Regions from separate parts of the Homo sapiens genome. Here all the other regions are linked to region 2. Evidence: promoter capture Hi-C in 16 types of primary human blood cells and fetal thymus (Javierre and others, 2016). All regions are on one chromosome and are shown on one strand. The core of a region is centred on a gene start or on the middle of the fragment in contact, and the rest is flanking DNA. Distances in the headings are between cores, read along the strand shown.

Region 1 (4,284 bases), core at 365-2,864, 370 kb after region 2:
GATTTTGGCACACTGCAACCTCTGCCTCCTGGGTTCAAGTGATTCTCCTGCCTCCGCCTCCCAAGTAGCTGGGCTTACAGGCACGCACCACCTCGCCCAGTTAATTTTTGTATGTTTAGTAGAGATAGGCTTTCACCGTGTTGGCCAGGCTGGTCTTGAACTCCTGACCTCAAGTGATCCGCCCTCATTAGCCTCCCAAAGTTCTGGGATTACAGGCATGAGCCATTGTGCCCAGCCTATATTTACATTGTCTTATGTCATTTTTTAATCTCTAATAGTGCTGACAAACTTCTATCATGTTGAGTCCTGTAACCATAGAACTTAGCCCAAAGACCATTAAGATCCTCTCCAGCTAGGTAATAAGCCATACAGAAGTTCAAACTGCTCCCTTGGCCTTACTGCTGCTTCTTGATGAGGTTAAATGAAATTTATGATTTAAGCTGTGTTTACATTTTAGGTTATCACAAACTGCTGACTAAGAGTGTGGCCGAGACTCCAGTGCATAAGCAGATCTCCAAAAGGCTGCTGCACAGACAAATCAAGGGCAGGTGAGTGACATCCCCATCCGGGCTTCTTCATACACCCACACCACCTCAAAGCGGCCTTGTGGGCCACTACTTCGCTTCTCTTGACCTTCATGACTTAAATCTTAACTATGTTGCTTAAAACCAAAGAGCATTCTATAAGCTCTCCATGGGAGCAGGAGAACCATATAAAATATACACTTGTCTGGCCTCAATTATTTTGAGATTCATCCATGTTGTTGCATGCAATAGTTCATCCTGTTTTATTGCTGAGAAGTATTCCATGGAATAGATACTCCACGGTTTTTAAATCCATTCATCTGTGAACATAGAGAAGGTGGAAGTCTGGGATCCCAACTCAGCCTTTGCTGACAGAGGTGTGGGTGGGGCTGCAGTTTTTTCTGCAGCGATTGGTTGGAGTAGGGCTGTTATTGTCTGAAAGTTTTCTGTCTTGCTTGGCTGACCCTTTCCTAGTTCTTTGGCTTGAGAGCTCTCCTTCCTTGGGGCATCTGTAGTTTGCTCCTGGTATACCTGGGTTGTCAGCTTTTCTGGCACCCAGTCTAGGGGTGTAGGCAGCAAACAGAAAACCCAGGGAGCTAGCTCACTGCCCTCCTCAGGTCCCAAAGTCCCCAGCCAGGCTGCCTTCTTCTCTCTGCCTTTCAGAATTGTCTCCTGCTCATTGTATAGATAATGTCATGGGTTTTTAGCTTGATTTCAAGGGTAATAGAAGCACACCTCCTTCTATTTTGTCAGAAACCCATCTCGACATTATTCGTATATGGATTTTACACACTTGTGAAGTTTATAGGTTAAATTGCGAAAAGTGAAATTGGTGGGTCAGAGGCATATATATTTTTAATTAAATTTTTTATAACATCCTTGACACATTGGCAGAAATTAAGGCTCTTAAACAGAAACTTGAATGTTGCTGCTCATTACTGTGATAGTCTGATAGTTTGGTATAATTTTTTAATATATTAATGGGGTTTATAATTCTGATGTTGTAAAATTGCTTTCCAAAAAATAAAAGCAAAACAAAACCACATTCTAACCATCTCACTCTTTTTCTGAGTAGGAATCTCACTCTGTCACTCAGGCTGGAGTGCAGTGGCACAATCCCAGCTCACTGCAACCTCTGCCTCCCAGGTTCAAGTGATTCTCCTACCTCAGCCTCCAGAGTAGCTGAACTACAGGTGTGTGCCACTGCACCCAGCTATCTTTTTTTTTTTTTTTTTTTTTGAGACAGAGTCTAGCTCTGTCGCCAGGCTGGAGTGCAGTGGCGCGATCCTGGCTCACTGCAACGTCTGCCTCCCGGGTTCAAGCGATTCTCTTGCCTCAGCCTCCCAAGTAGCTGGGACTACAGGCGCATGCCACCACGCCCAGCTAATTTTTGTATTTTTAATAGAGTCGGGGTTTCACCATATTGGCCAGACTGGTCTCGAACTCCTGACCTCAAGTGATCCGCCCGCCTTAGCCTCCTAAGGTGCTGGGATTACAGGCGTGAGACACTGTGGCCAGCCTCCCTCTTGACAATAATCACGTATGAGAGCCCTTTACCAGCACTGGTGTTATCAGACCCTGTGATCTTTGTGATCTTGTTAAGTGAGAAGCTGCCTGTCTCCTTAATAAGTGTTAATTACAAGTGGTATGGAGTAATCCTTGTGCATGTGGTTCCTCGAGGTCCTCTGATCCTGGTCCTGATATTGGTGTTGTTGAAGAGTCCCCTGAAAAAGGAGATGGTGAGTGTTATCTCTTTTTGTTTTTAATGCAATCTACCCAGCTTCTATGAAAACCTTTCTGTATGTATTGTTACTTGGCATATCCTAAGATATTTTACAGAAATTGTGATGGCTCTGAGTCCACAATGCAGCTCAGTAAATATTTATAAGTGAATGTTCTTCTGCATAGAAGGTACTGAGAGAATTCTGGAAAAGAAATATTTTTGCACAACAGATATGAAATTCAGGATGAGGGCTAAACTGTGTTATACAAAGTGCTATGACTTATTTTAAAAGTATATATAACTTTGTTGGAGCTTTTCACTACATATTTTTTCAAGAAGGCAGGGAAATTTTTTATTGGGGAGTGTCTTTTCTGAGACATTATCTTTGCTGCTGCCCCTTATGTATCTGTGTATTCCGTGCCCCCAACACACAGTGCCTGGCACATAGCAGGTGATCAGTAAGCACATGTTGAATGAGGGTGAGCAGCAGGTGTGGTGGTTCACGCCTGTAATCCCAGCACTTTGGGAAGCCAAGTGGGGAGGATCACTGGCCAGGAGTTTGACACCATCTTAGGCAACACAGTGAGGTGCTGTGTCTATAAAAAATTTAAAAAATCAGCTGGTCATGTTGGCATACTCCTATGGTCCCAGCTACTCGGGAGGCTGAGGTGAGAGGATCTCTTGAGCTCTGGAGTTCAAGGCTGCAGTGAGCTATGATCGTGCCTCTGCACTCCAGCCTAGCGACAGAGCAAGACCATGTCTCTAAAAAATAAAATAATAAAAGTATACATGATGAAGGAGGGGTTTTAAAAAACTAACTTCTAAGTTGCTCAAGTAATTCACATTTATTGTGGAAAAAACAGGAAACATGAAGCCAAAAATTTTAAAGCACTTGGTAATTCCACAACTCAGAAATACTCTAACATTTTAGCATATACTCTTACTGCTATTATTTCTATATAAATGCATGTAACATATACATACGAAACCTAACATAAATACTTGTTTTCGCCCTACACCATTCTTCTTTTTTTTTTTTTTTTTTTGGTGAGACAGACTCTTGCTCTGTCGCCCAGGCTGGAGTGCACTGGCATGCTCTCCGCTCACTGCAACCTCCACCTCCCAGGTTCAAGCGATTCTCCTGCCACAGCCTCCCAAGTAGCTGGGGTTATAGGCACCCACCACCATACCTGGCTAATTTTTGTATTTTTAGTAGAGACAGGGTTTCACCTTGTTGGTCAGGCTGGCTACACCATTCTTAAGGTGGCAGTAAATAAGACTTCTGAAGGTAATAGTCTAGTGGGTCAGTGTTTTTTTAATACCTTGTTGGGACCATGTATCAAACCCCTCTTAGTTTGTTAAGAGACACTTCAGAAGTCTCTTAAAGCTAATAGCTTGCTGAATTTCCATCTTATATGTGGTACTATGTAAATTTTGCCCGGTTTTGGACAACATGAGAAAATGTCAAGCTTGTAGTTGTCTTTGGTTACTTACTGTGGTTCTGATTTTACAGAAATAAGTCTGAGACGAAGTCCTCGAATCAAGCAGTTGTCATTTAGCAGGACACATTCTGCCTCCTTCTATTCTGTGTCTCAGCCGAAGTCTCGAAGTGTGCAAAGAGTCCACTCTTTCCAGCAAGATAAGTCAGGTAACATACGGGCCCCTCTGCCTTCACAAGTCCGTGCTGACTTGGTGAGAAGTGTTTTTGGGAAAAGAAGCAAGAAATTTGACATTTTCTTTCTTGACATTGGAGAAGTAGAATAGGTATGTCTAGTTGAGGTTCAGGGTGATGGCTAGATGGACAGTCCATGACTTTGTAATCAGTCATCCCTAGGACTCCTACAACTGGTCATCCATGCTATCATTATAGGTAGCTCATTCATTCAAGAGGAAGCTACCCATAATTTCCCATAAGGACAGAACCTACACATCATTATCTTAGGTGGAAGGTGATATCTGTGTTTACGTTCTTCATTCTTCTATCCATGGTTAGCTTGCTAATAGATTTGTGTTTCTTATTTTATCTTTTTTTGAGAC
Region 2 (4,624 bases), core at 1,960-4,459:
CGGGTTCAAGCAATTCTCCTGCCTCAGCCTCCTGAGTGGCTGGGACTACAGGCGCCCATCACCACACCTGGCTAATTTTTATATTTTTACTAGAGATAGGCTTTTGCCATTTTGGCCAGGCTGGCCTCAAACTACTGACCTCAGGTGATCCACCCGCCTTGGCCTCCCAAAGTGCTGGGATTACAGGTGTCAACCACTGTGCCCGGCCTGTTTCTATGAATTTGATGAGATACCTTATATAAATGGAATCACGTACATTAGTATTTGTCTTTTGGTGACTGGCTTATTTCACTTTAGCATAATGTTCTCAAGTTCATCCATGTTGTAGCATGTGTCAGAATTTCCTTCCTTTTAAAGCTGGATAATATTCCATAGTATGTATGTCCCACAATTTTTTTTTTTTGAGACAGAGTCTCGTTCTGTCACCAGGTTGGAGTGCAGTGGCACAATCTCAGCTCACTGCAATCTCTGCCTCCCAGGTTCAAGCAATTCCCCTGCCTCAACCTCCTAAGTAGCTGGGACTACAGGCACGCACCACCATGCCCAGCTAATTTTTTGTATTTTTTTAGTAGAGATGGGGTCTCACCATGTTGGCTAGGATGGTCTCAATCTGCTGACCCGTGATCTGCCCGCCTCGGCCTCCCAAAGTGTTGGGATTACAGGTGTGAGCCACCGCACCCAGTCGTATGTCCCACATTTTATCCATTCATACAGTGAGGGACATTTGTGTTATTTCTACCTTTTGATTATTGTAAATAGTACTACTGTGAACACAGATATACAAATATCTCTCTGAGATCCTGCTTTCAATACTTTTCAAAAGTTATTTGCTGGAAGGAAATAACACTTTCATGTGCTTCTAAGTTTGGCTCTTTATATGTGTTACCTTGATCATTCTCTCAAGCAGCACTGCCCTTAATCCCAAGCAACTGGAGCTCTTGGGCGGGGTGGGGGCCTTATTGGTCTTCCTCTGCCCAGAGTCCAGAGGATGTGCCCACCCACCTTCCTTTAGATCATGCTCTAGGTACCTACTTAACCATCCTCAAATTTGCTTCCAGGGCCCAGATAGGCCTTTTCCTAGGTCCACCCTTCCTAGAGTGGACCTGCTAGTATGTACAGCCCTAGACCCAAAGGGTGGCTACAGGGCAGCTTTGTGGGGGACTCATGGTGTGGATCTTCAGGCTGGGTGTCCACATGCAGGCATAGGAAGCCTGAGACCTCACACTGTAGGACTGAGTTGGGAATGGTAAGGGGCTTCCATTTGTACTTTTTCTCTGGACTCCTGTAAATATTAGTAGCTATAATGTTGTTAAGATAAACAAGTACTATTGACAAGGTCTGAAGAACATTTAGTTCCATTACTGTAAACCTGTTTTTAACTGGATGTATTTTCTAGAATCAGTGTATCACTAGCTTCTCAGTGTATAGTGTCTAGTCAGTGAACCAGACGGATAAGATTTGCTCCTTAGTTAAGGAAGCCTGCACCAGGGTGAAAAACCGTTGTTGTTAATCTGAATGAATCTGTTCTTCTCTTCTTTTGCATATGTAACACTTATTAATGCAAATGGAAAACACAGATGATGCATTCGTGCAACAAGAGGAGACAAGAACCCTGAGGCATCAATGCCAGTGGGTAGACACACAGGCAATTCAGTAAGTACGTCTGGGATGCGCCAGTGGAGGCTCGGAGAGGCTAATGAGCTTGTTCTAGCTACCCAGACCCACAGATTCATGGCTGAATCCCAGAAGCAGCCTGGGAGATTTTGTGGGGAGATGAGGCAAAGTCATCTACTTCCTTGGCAAGGTAAAGGATTCCTTTCAGGAATCATCTTCTACCTCAAGCTGCCGTGTTTTAGTTAAACATCACAGCTCAGTATTGGGACAGAAATGTAGAAGGAAAAAAATGCTGAAGGGTCACAAGCAAGGAGCAGGTCTAGACAGCTGAGAGGAACCATTCTCCTCCAATAGCTCTGTTTCTTCAATAACTGGCCATGTAGACCCGTTCTACCCCCGAGGGCTGGGAGTCGAGTCAGGTTCCAGACTGAAATGCTCCCTGATCTTAGCATTCCTTCACTTGCCATCCCACAGGCACCTCAAATTTGGTGCGTCCAACTCTGAAGGGCTCATCATCACCCCATCATCCTTTTCCTGTGCTCCCTGTGTTAGTCAACTGCAGGATTAACTCCCCGCCCCCCAACCCCAGTCGCTCAAGCCTGAACATTCCTCAACAACGCCCACACCCCCTCAAATCCGGATATTTGGGCTTCCTAAATCTCTACCTCCTAATCTCTTTCACATGCGGTCCACTCCTTTCTGTCCCCATTGCCAAGGTTGGGCCACCACCACCTATCTTTGGGACAACTTACAGTCTTCTAAGGGGGGTCCTGCCTTCGGTCCGCCCCACCTGGCTCATCTCTTTTCAACAGTTTCTGCGGTCCTCACCTGCCCGAGACAGCAGTCTACAATGCGAACACAGTCATGTCCTTCCCCTTCAGCGGTTCCCCACTGCCCCCAATATGAAAAGGAGTTAGAAACCCCTGCCTTCCCACTCCCACCGAGCACCTTCGCCTTCTGAACTGGCCAGGGGCTCTGTTGCTTGCTCGTTGCTCTCAGACCCTTTGCGCAAGGTGCTCCCTCAACCCAAAATAGAATCTCGGCCCACCCTCTGTCGGTCTTCGCCCCACTGTCAGTTGTTCATTTAACAAATATTCGCTGCTTTTGCCAGGCTATGCAATAAACGCTGGGGTTACGCAAGGGGAGCGCAAAACAAAACAAAACAGAGAACAAACAAAAACCACAACTCCCAAAAGTCCATTAAGACCCCTAGCCACAGGGGGCTTACATCTGAGGGGTTACCGTCCCTTGGCACAAGGTGGAGTATGAAATCCGCCTCTGCCTTCCAGGCTTTTCCAGTGCCAAGACCTGCGGGGCCACCAATTGTGAGTCCCCTCCCGCACTGACTACTCCCTCAACAGGACAGGAGGGAAGCTGAACCTGTCGGGACACCGCGCTGGGCACGCTCAGGTCCCACCGCGCGTGCTCATCGGCGGTCCCTAGCGCGAGTTCGGACAGGCAGCGCCCCCCTCCGACTGTGAGCTGGGACGCTCCCGCACGCTTCCCGGCACCCCTTCAGTCTTCATGGTACACCCCGCCCGCAGGTACCCGGACGGCGGAAGTGAGCCGCGGGGGCGGATCTTGTTGTTACGGGTAACGGAAGTGTGGCGGCGTTGGGTTGAGCGGGCTTTTTGGAAGTTTGTGGCGGAGGTGAGGCCGAGGTGACTGCAGAGCGGCTCGCGAGGTGCTCGGGCTGTGGGACTGGGCCCCTGGGAGGGAGCGGTTCTGTGGGGGAAAGGAGGCTCCTGTCCTGACTTGGCGTTCTGGTATTTTCTCTGGCGTGGAAAGTAGGCGCGCTCCGCTGTCTCCCGCCGCCTGCCTCAGCTTTCGCGGTTCCCTCCTAGGGGTGTGCCTCAGTCGGAGCCCCTTCTGTTAAATTCTTCCCCCTTGGCCGAGGGTGAGCTCTTACTTCTGAGAAATTTCCCTTAACCTTGCTTTGCATTTGTTGTCCGGTCGCGGTCTCCATCACCAGCTGCTTCGTGTTATAGTTTTTGTATTTGCGCTCACGGCTTGTTAACTGAAGAACCCGGAAGGGAAGGCCGCGGCGTTTCCCGCCGGCGGGGCTCTGCCATTCTCGGATCTTGGCTTCAGATCTCTGATGCTCCCCAGCGTCTCTTGGCAAGGAATCTACTTCGCGTTCAGGGAATTCACAGCCACCCGCCTCTGGTCTTACCTCTGGTTTTAGGATGATTTTAGCAAATGTGCCTAGGTTGATTTAAACGTATCCCCCTCCGAAGCCGCCTGCCCCTTCTGGCTGGACACCTTTTTAGGTTGGTGTGTCCTGTTTGCATCCGGTAGTTCAAAGCATGGGATCTTGGAGTCCGGAGCTGGACAGACTCGGGTTTCACTTCTCTCTCTGCCACTTGGTAGCCTTCTAATCTTGGGGGAAATTCCCTAATCTCTGAATCCCAAAAGTTGTTCATCTAAAATGGGGCTAATATTACACCTACCTAGTAGGTGGTGTTGTGGGAGTCATGTTAATGAATGTAAAGTGCTGGGTTCAGTGTTTTCCCTATTATAGGGGTTCAATAATTTGTTCAACAAACATTTGTTACCTAGTTTGAGCTAGGTACTGTGCTAAGTGCTGGAGATACAATGATAAACAAAACCAGCTACGGCCCGTGTCCTTAGGGGACTTATAGTCTAGTGGGAGATAACATTTGTTAATCTGATAATTACACATGTAATATTAAAAATTGGTGACAGTATGTAAGAGAGTTTACTGGTGCCATGAGAGGATGTACTAGGGGAACGTTTAACAACCTATACTGAGCTTTTCTTTTCTTTTCTTTTCTTTTTTTTTTGAGACAGAGTCTCCCTCTGTTGCCAGGCTGGAGTGCAGTGGCGCGATCTCGGCTCACTGCAACCTCCGCCTCCTGAGTTCAAGTGATTCTCCTGCCTCAGCCTCACAAGTAGCTGGGACTACAGGTGCGTGCCGTCACGCCCAGCTATTTTTTTTTTTTTTTTTTTTTTTTTTTTTTTTTTTTGTATTTTTAGTAGAGACGGGGTT
Region 3 (4,886 bases), core at 2,221-4,720, 350 kb after region 2:
TGCTTAACTAAATTTACAAAATTCTCATGTTGTTGAACATTTAGATTGCTTTCAGTTTTCATCATTATAAATAATACTGTAGTATACATTATGCGTATAATTTGTTTTTTAAGTAATTACCTTAGCAGAAGTTTCCAGGAACCAGTTACTGTGTCAGGGTATGAAAACTGGCTCTTTATGTAGATTGCTAAATTGTCATTCAGAAATTTTCATCACCATTTTTCGTGGCCATTGGGTAACACCAAAATAAGTCTGTTTGGCATTTGCCTTATGGGAAAACCATCCATTGAGATGTTTAGTTCCAATCCAATCACATTGAGATGTTTAGTTCCTAAACTTCGGTTAAAAGAAAGGTTCTCTTTCTACCCTGTGTGTGGGCAGAAAGAGATGCAAGAACTTCCTAATTCAAATCATTCTGGAGGGATATGCTTCATTTTGATATTCTTTCACAGTAATCTGAATTAAAGTAGTTCTTCTTTCCACAGAAGTGGAAGGCAATTTACTTTCCCTCCTCTGATGTTGTTTTGGTAGGAGGGGTCCCTCGTACTCCAGTGAGACAGAAGATGAATACCATGTGCCGTTCCTTAAAGATGTTGAATGTCGCAAGGCTGAATGTGAAGGCCCAGAAGTTACATCCAGATGGCAGTCCGGATGTGGCTGGGGAGAAAGGAATCCAAAAGATACCTAGTGGGAGAACAGTGGATAAATTGGAAGACAGAGGAAGAACACTAAGAAGTTCTAAACCTAAAGGTATTCCTCTTAGTCTATAATTTACTCTTTTATACCCCGCTTTTTTAAAAATAAAATTTAATCGTACCCTTAGTTTATTGACTATCTGCTACATGCACAAAAAGGTGTTATGGTGAATACAGTAAATAATAAGATAATGTGCTATTCTTAGATTTATGATCTAGCTACAAAGATAAGGGAGGCGGAGGTTGTGGTGAGCCGAGATTGCACCACTGCACTCCAGCCTGGGAGACAGAGCGAGACTCTGTCTCAAAAGAAAAAGAAAAAAAGAAAGAAAATTCTGAGGTGTAAATTTTATGCTGCTTTACAGATTTTTTTTTTTCCTGTGGAATGTGAGAGCCATAGATGATAATCAGTTTGAATGGGACAGAACACCTTTAGTGGGCTAGTAAAGGTGTGTGAAATGTGCTTGATACATGCAAGGGAAGGCTGAAACAACAGTACTGAAGACAGTGTGGCAGGAACATAATTTCTGGACTAGATTCTGTCTAGCAGTAGACCTGCACAATAGTGGGCAAATGATTTTTGACAAAGATGCCCCAATAATTCCGTGAGAAAGACATAATCTTTTCAATAAATGATGCTGGAACAACTAGATACCTTTATGGAAACAAAATTAGACCTTACTTTTAATAGTATTTTGTATTCCTGCTATTTTTAATATTTATGCCTTCCATCTCTCTCTCTTTAATTGCTCAATCTTGCTATAGAGTTTTCTGTTTTATTCCTCTTTTCTTTTTTTGTTGTTTTTTGAGACTGAGTTTTGCTCTTTTTGCCCAGGCTGGAGTGCACTGGCATGATCTTGGCTCACTGCAACCTCTGCCTCCCGGGTTCAAGCGATTCTCCTGTCTCAGCCTCCCGAGTAGCTGGGATTACAGGCGCATGCCACCACACCCGGCTAATTTTTGTATTTTTAGTAGAGACAGGGTTTTATCATATTGGTCAGGCTGGTTTCGAACTCCTAACCTCAGGTGATCAGCCTGCTTCGGCCTCCTAAAGTGCTGGGATTACAAGTGTGAGCCACCGCGCCTGGCCTTATTTGGCTTTTCAAAGAACCGTCTTTTGTTTCTGTTGATTGCTGTTGTTGCTTTGTTTTCAATTCATTTCTGTTCTTTATGATTACCTTCCTACCTTTATTTTTGGGGTTTACTCTCTCATATTACTTCACGTGTTGGACCCTTAGATAGTTAATAGTTTTTAATTTGTCTGCTTTACAAAAATAATCACTTGTCTAAAGTCTGTACATTTTCTCTTTAAGTATAACTAACTGCATTATGTATTTACTGTTTTCTATTTTCATTGATACTTATTTATAAATATTTTCTGACATCCATAATATAAGGGAGTGTTTTATAATTAGCTTTTAATATTTTTGAACTGTGCTCAATGTGGTCTGTAAGATTGATTCTTTAATATTTGCTGAAACTGACCTAATGTGCACTTGAAAATAATGGGTATTCTCTAATTGTTGAATATCTGGTTTTATACGTGTCTGTACATCAAGTTTATTAATGTTTGAATATTCAACATTTTTAGTAATTTTTTTCTGCTGCTTTTATCTATTGCTAAGATGATTGTATTAGTCTTCCACTATTGTATTGTCTTTGCTCCTTTGTCAAAGATCAGTGGAGGCCAGGTGCAGTGACTCATGCCTGTAATCCTAGCACTTTGGGAGGCTGAGGCGGGCAGATCACCCGAGGTCAGTAGTTCGAGATCAGCCTGGCCAGCATGGTGAAACCCTGTCTCTACTAAAAATACAAAAATTAGCCAGGCGTGGTGGCAGGCGCCTGTAGTCCCAGCTACTTGGGGTTACTGAGTCATGAGAATCGCTTGATCCCGGGAGACAGAGGTTGCAGTGAGCCGAGATTGCGCCCCTGCACTCCAGCCTGGGTGACGGAGCAAGACTCTGTCTCAAAAAAAAAAAAAAAAATCCGTTTACTATATTTATGTAGGTCTATTTCCAGGCTCTCCTGTTACATTGATCTCTCTATTCTTTTGCTAATATCACACAAACTGTCTTGATTACTGTAGCTTTATAGTAAGTCCTGAAGGTTGGTACTATCAGTCCTCAAACTTTGTTTTTCTCATTCAATATTGAGTTAGTTATTCTGGGTCTTTCGCCTCTTCATATAAACTTTAGAATCAGTTTGTCAATATGCAGAAAATAACTTATTTGATAGGGATCACATAGAATCTATAGATCAAATTGGGAATCTGAAATCTTGACAGTATTGAGTCTTTCTTGCTGTGAACATGGAATATCTCTCCACTTATTTAGTTCTTTGATTTTGTTCACAGAATTTTGTAGTTTTCCGCATATAGATCTTATACAAATTTTGTTAGATTTAATACCTGGGTATTTCATATTTAGGGGGGGTGCTAATTTAAATGGTAATGTGTTTTTAATTTTAAATTTTGCTTGTACATTACTGGCATATGGGAAAGCAATGGACTTTTATGTATTAATCTTGTATCCTGCAAATTTGCTATAATCACTTGTTAGTTCCAGGAGTTTTTTGTTTGTTTGTTTGTTTGTTTTTTTTAGTAGAGATGGGGTTTCACCGTGTTAGCCAGGATGGTCTCGATCTCCTGACCTCGTGATCTGCCCACCTCAGCCTCCCAAAGTGCTGGGATTACAGGCGTGAGCCACCACACCCGGCCCAGTTCCAGGAGTTTTGTTGTTTGTTCTTTCAGATTTTCTAATCATGTCATATCACCAAAGACAGTTTTATTTCTTCCTACCTTTAAATTGTTTGTTTGTTTGTTTTGAGACGGAGTTTCACTCTTATTGCCCAGACTGGAGTGCAATGGTGCGGTCTTGGCTCACTGCAACCTCCGCCTCCCAGGTTCAAGTGATTCTCCTGTCTCAGCCTCCTGAGTAGCTGGGATTAGAGGCGCCCGCCACTACGCCCGGGTAATTTTTGGTATTTTTAGTAGAGAAGAGGTTTCACCATGTTGGCCAGGCTGGTCTTGAACTCCTGACCTCAGGTGATCCACCCACCTCGGCCTCCCAAACTGTTAGGATTACAGACGTGAGCCACCACGCCTGGCCTCCTACCTTTAAATTTTTAACACTTAAACTTGGTATACAGAGCCTTAAAATTAATCACTTGGCTGGGCATGGTGGCTCATGCCAGTAATCCTAGCACTTTGGGAGGCCAGGGCGGATAGATGGCTTGAGTTCAGGAGTTCAAGACCAGCCTGGGCAACATGGTGAAACCCTGTCTTTACCAAAAATACAGAAAATAAGCTAGGTGTGGTGGCACATGCTTGTGGTCCCAGCTACTCCAGAGGCTGAGGTGGGAAGATCACTTGAGCCTGCCTGGGAGGTGGAGGTTGTGGTGAGCCGAGATTGTGCCACTGCACTCCAGCCTGATTGTCAGAGTAAGACCTTGTCTCAAATAAAATGAAATAAAATTAATCACTTATCTCTGTAGTTTCTCAGTCTCTGGACTATTGACATTTTAGACCAGATAATTCTTCGTTGTAGGGCTGTCCTATGTATTGTAGGATGTTTAACAGCATCCCTGGCTCCTACATACTAGATGGCCAGCAGCCACCCCCGCCCCCACCACCATCAGTCATGACAATCCAGACAAGGCCAAATGTTCCCTGCAAGGAAATATTTTCCCCAGTGGACAACAACTGGCCTAAGTAATACAAGGACTTGAGCAAGATATGATTAATCCATTTTATTTTATTTTTTTCTCAGATTTTAAAACTGAGGAAGAGCTGCTATCATATATACGTGAAAATTACCAAAAGACTGTGGCCACAGGAGAAATCATGTTGTATGCATGTGCTCGAAACATGATCTCAACCGTTAAAATGTTCCTAAAATCAAAAGGCACCAAGGAATTAGAAGTAAGAGGGTCCAGATATTGTTGTTTGTCATGGATGTAGTGGTTGGTTGGTTGGTTGGTGGTGGATTTGGTTAGTGTCTTGGAAAATGTCTGTTATGTCATATGTGATTCAAAAATGGTAAGATAAGTAAGGGAGTAAGTACAGTTCCAGATCTCAGAAGGTGGATATGGTGAACTGGTAAGGCAGAAATCAAAGAGATGGGGTGAGCGGGGATAATTACATATAATTCTCTCCTAATGAAAAGCCTTTCCTCATGTGAGCTATATGTTAGC

The links. Contacts are between HindIII fragments. The CHiCAGO score rates a contact against its expected background, and 5 or more counts as called.
Region 1: a fragment that was not itself captured here is called in contact with the fragment with the promoter of FANCI in region 2 in 1 of 17 cell types (erythroblasts); the score reaches 6.4 in erythroblasts.
Region 3: a fragment that was not itself captured here is called in contact with the fragment with the promoter of FANCI in region 2 in 1 of 17 cell types (erythroblasts); the score reaches 6.7 in erythroblasts.

The regions. Positions count from the first base shown.
Region 1 is chr15:89,615,948-89,620,231 of GRCh38, forward strand. It overlaps TICRR (TOPBP1 interacting checkpoint and replication regulator), which reads left to right. Exons shown (of 22, transcript NM_152259.4): 16 at 458-548; 17 at 2,205-2,263; 18 at 3,761-3,895. It also overlaps a transcript of KIF7 not described here. Among named protein-coding and RNA genes, the nearest start is that of KIF7, 37 kb to the right of the region's middle. The HindIII fragment of the contact is 4,200 bases long and covers 1-3,714 here.
Region 2 is chr15:89,240,770-89,245,393 of GRCh38, forward strand. FANCI (FA complementation group I) reads left to right here and starts at 3,210. Exons shown (of 38, transcript NM_001113378.2): 1 at 3,210-3,264. RefSeq lists an enhancer at 3,413-3,792. The HindIII fragment of the contact is 10,185 bases long and covers 1-4,624 here.
Region 3 is chr15:89,594,862-89,599,747 of GRCh38, forward strand. TICRR (TOPBP1 interacting checkpoint and replication regulator) reads left to right here. Exons shown (of 22, transcript NM_152259.4): 7 at 532-750; 8 at 4,463-4,614. Among named protein-coding and RNA genes, the nearest start is that of TICRR, 22 kb to the left of the region's middle. The HindIII fragment of the contact is 8,455 bases long and covers 1-4,886 here.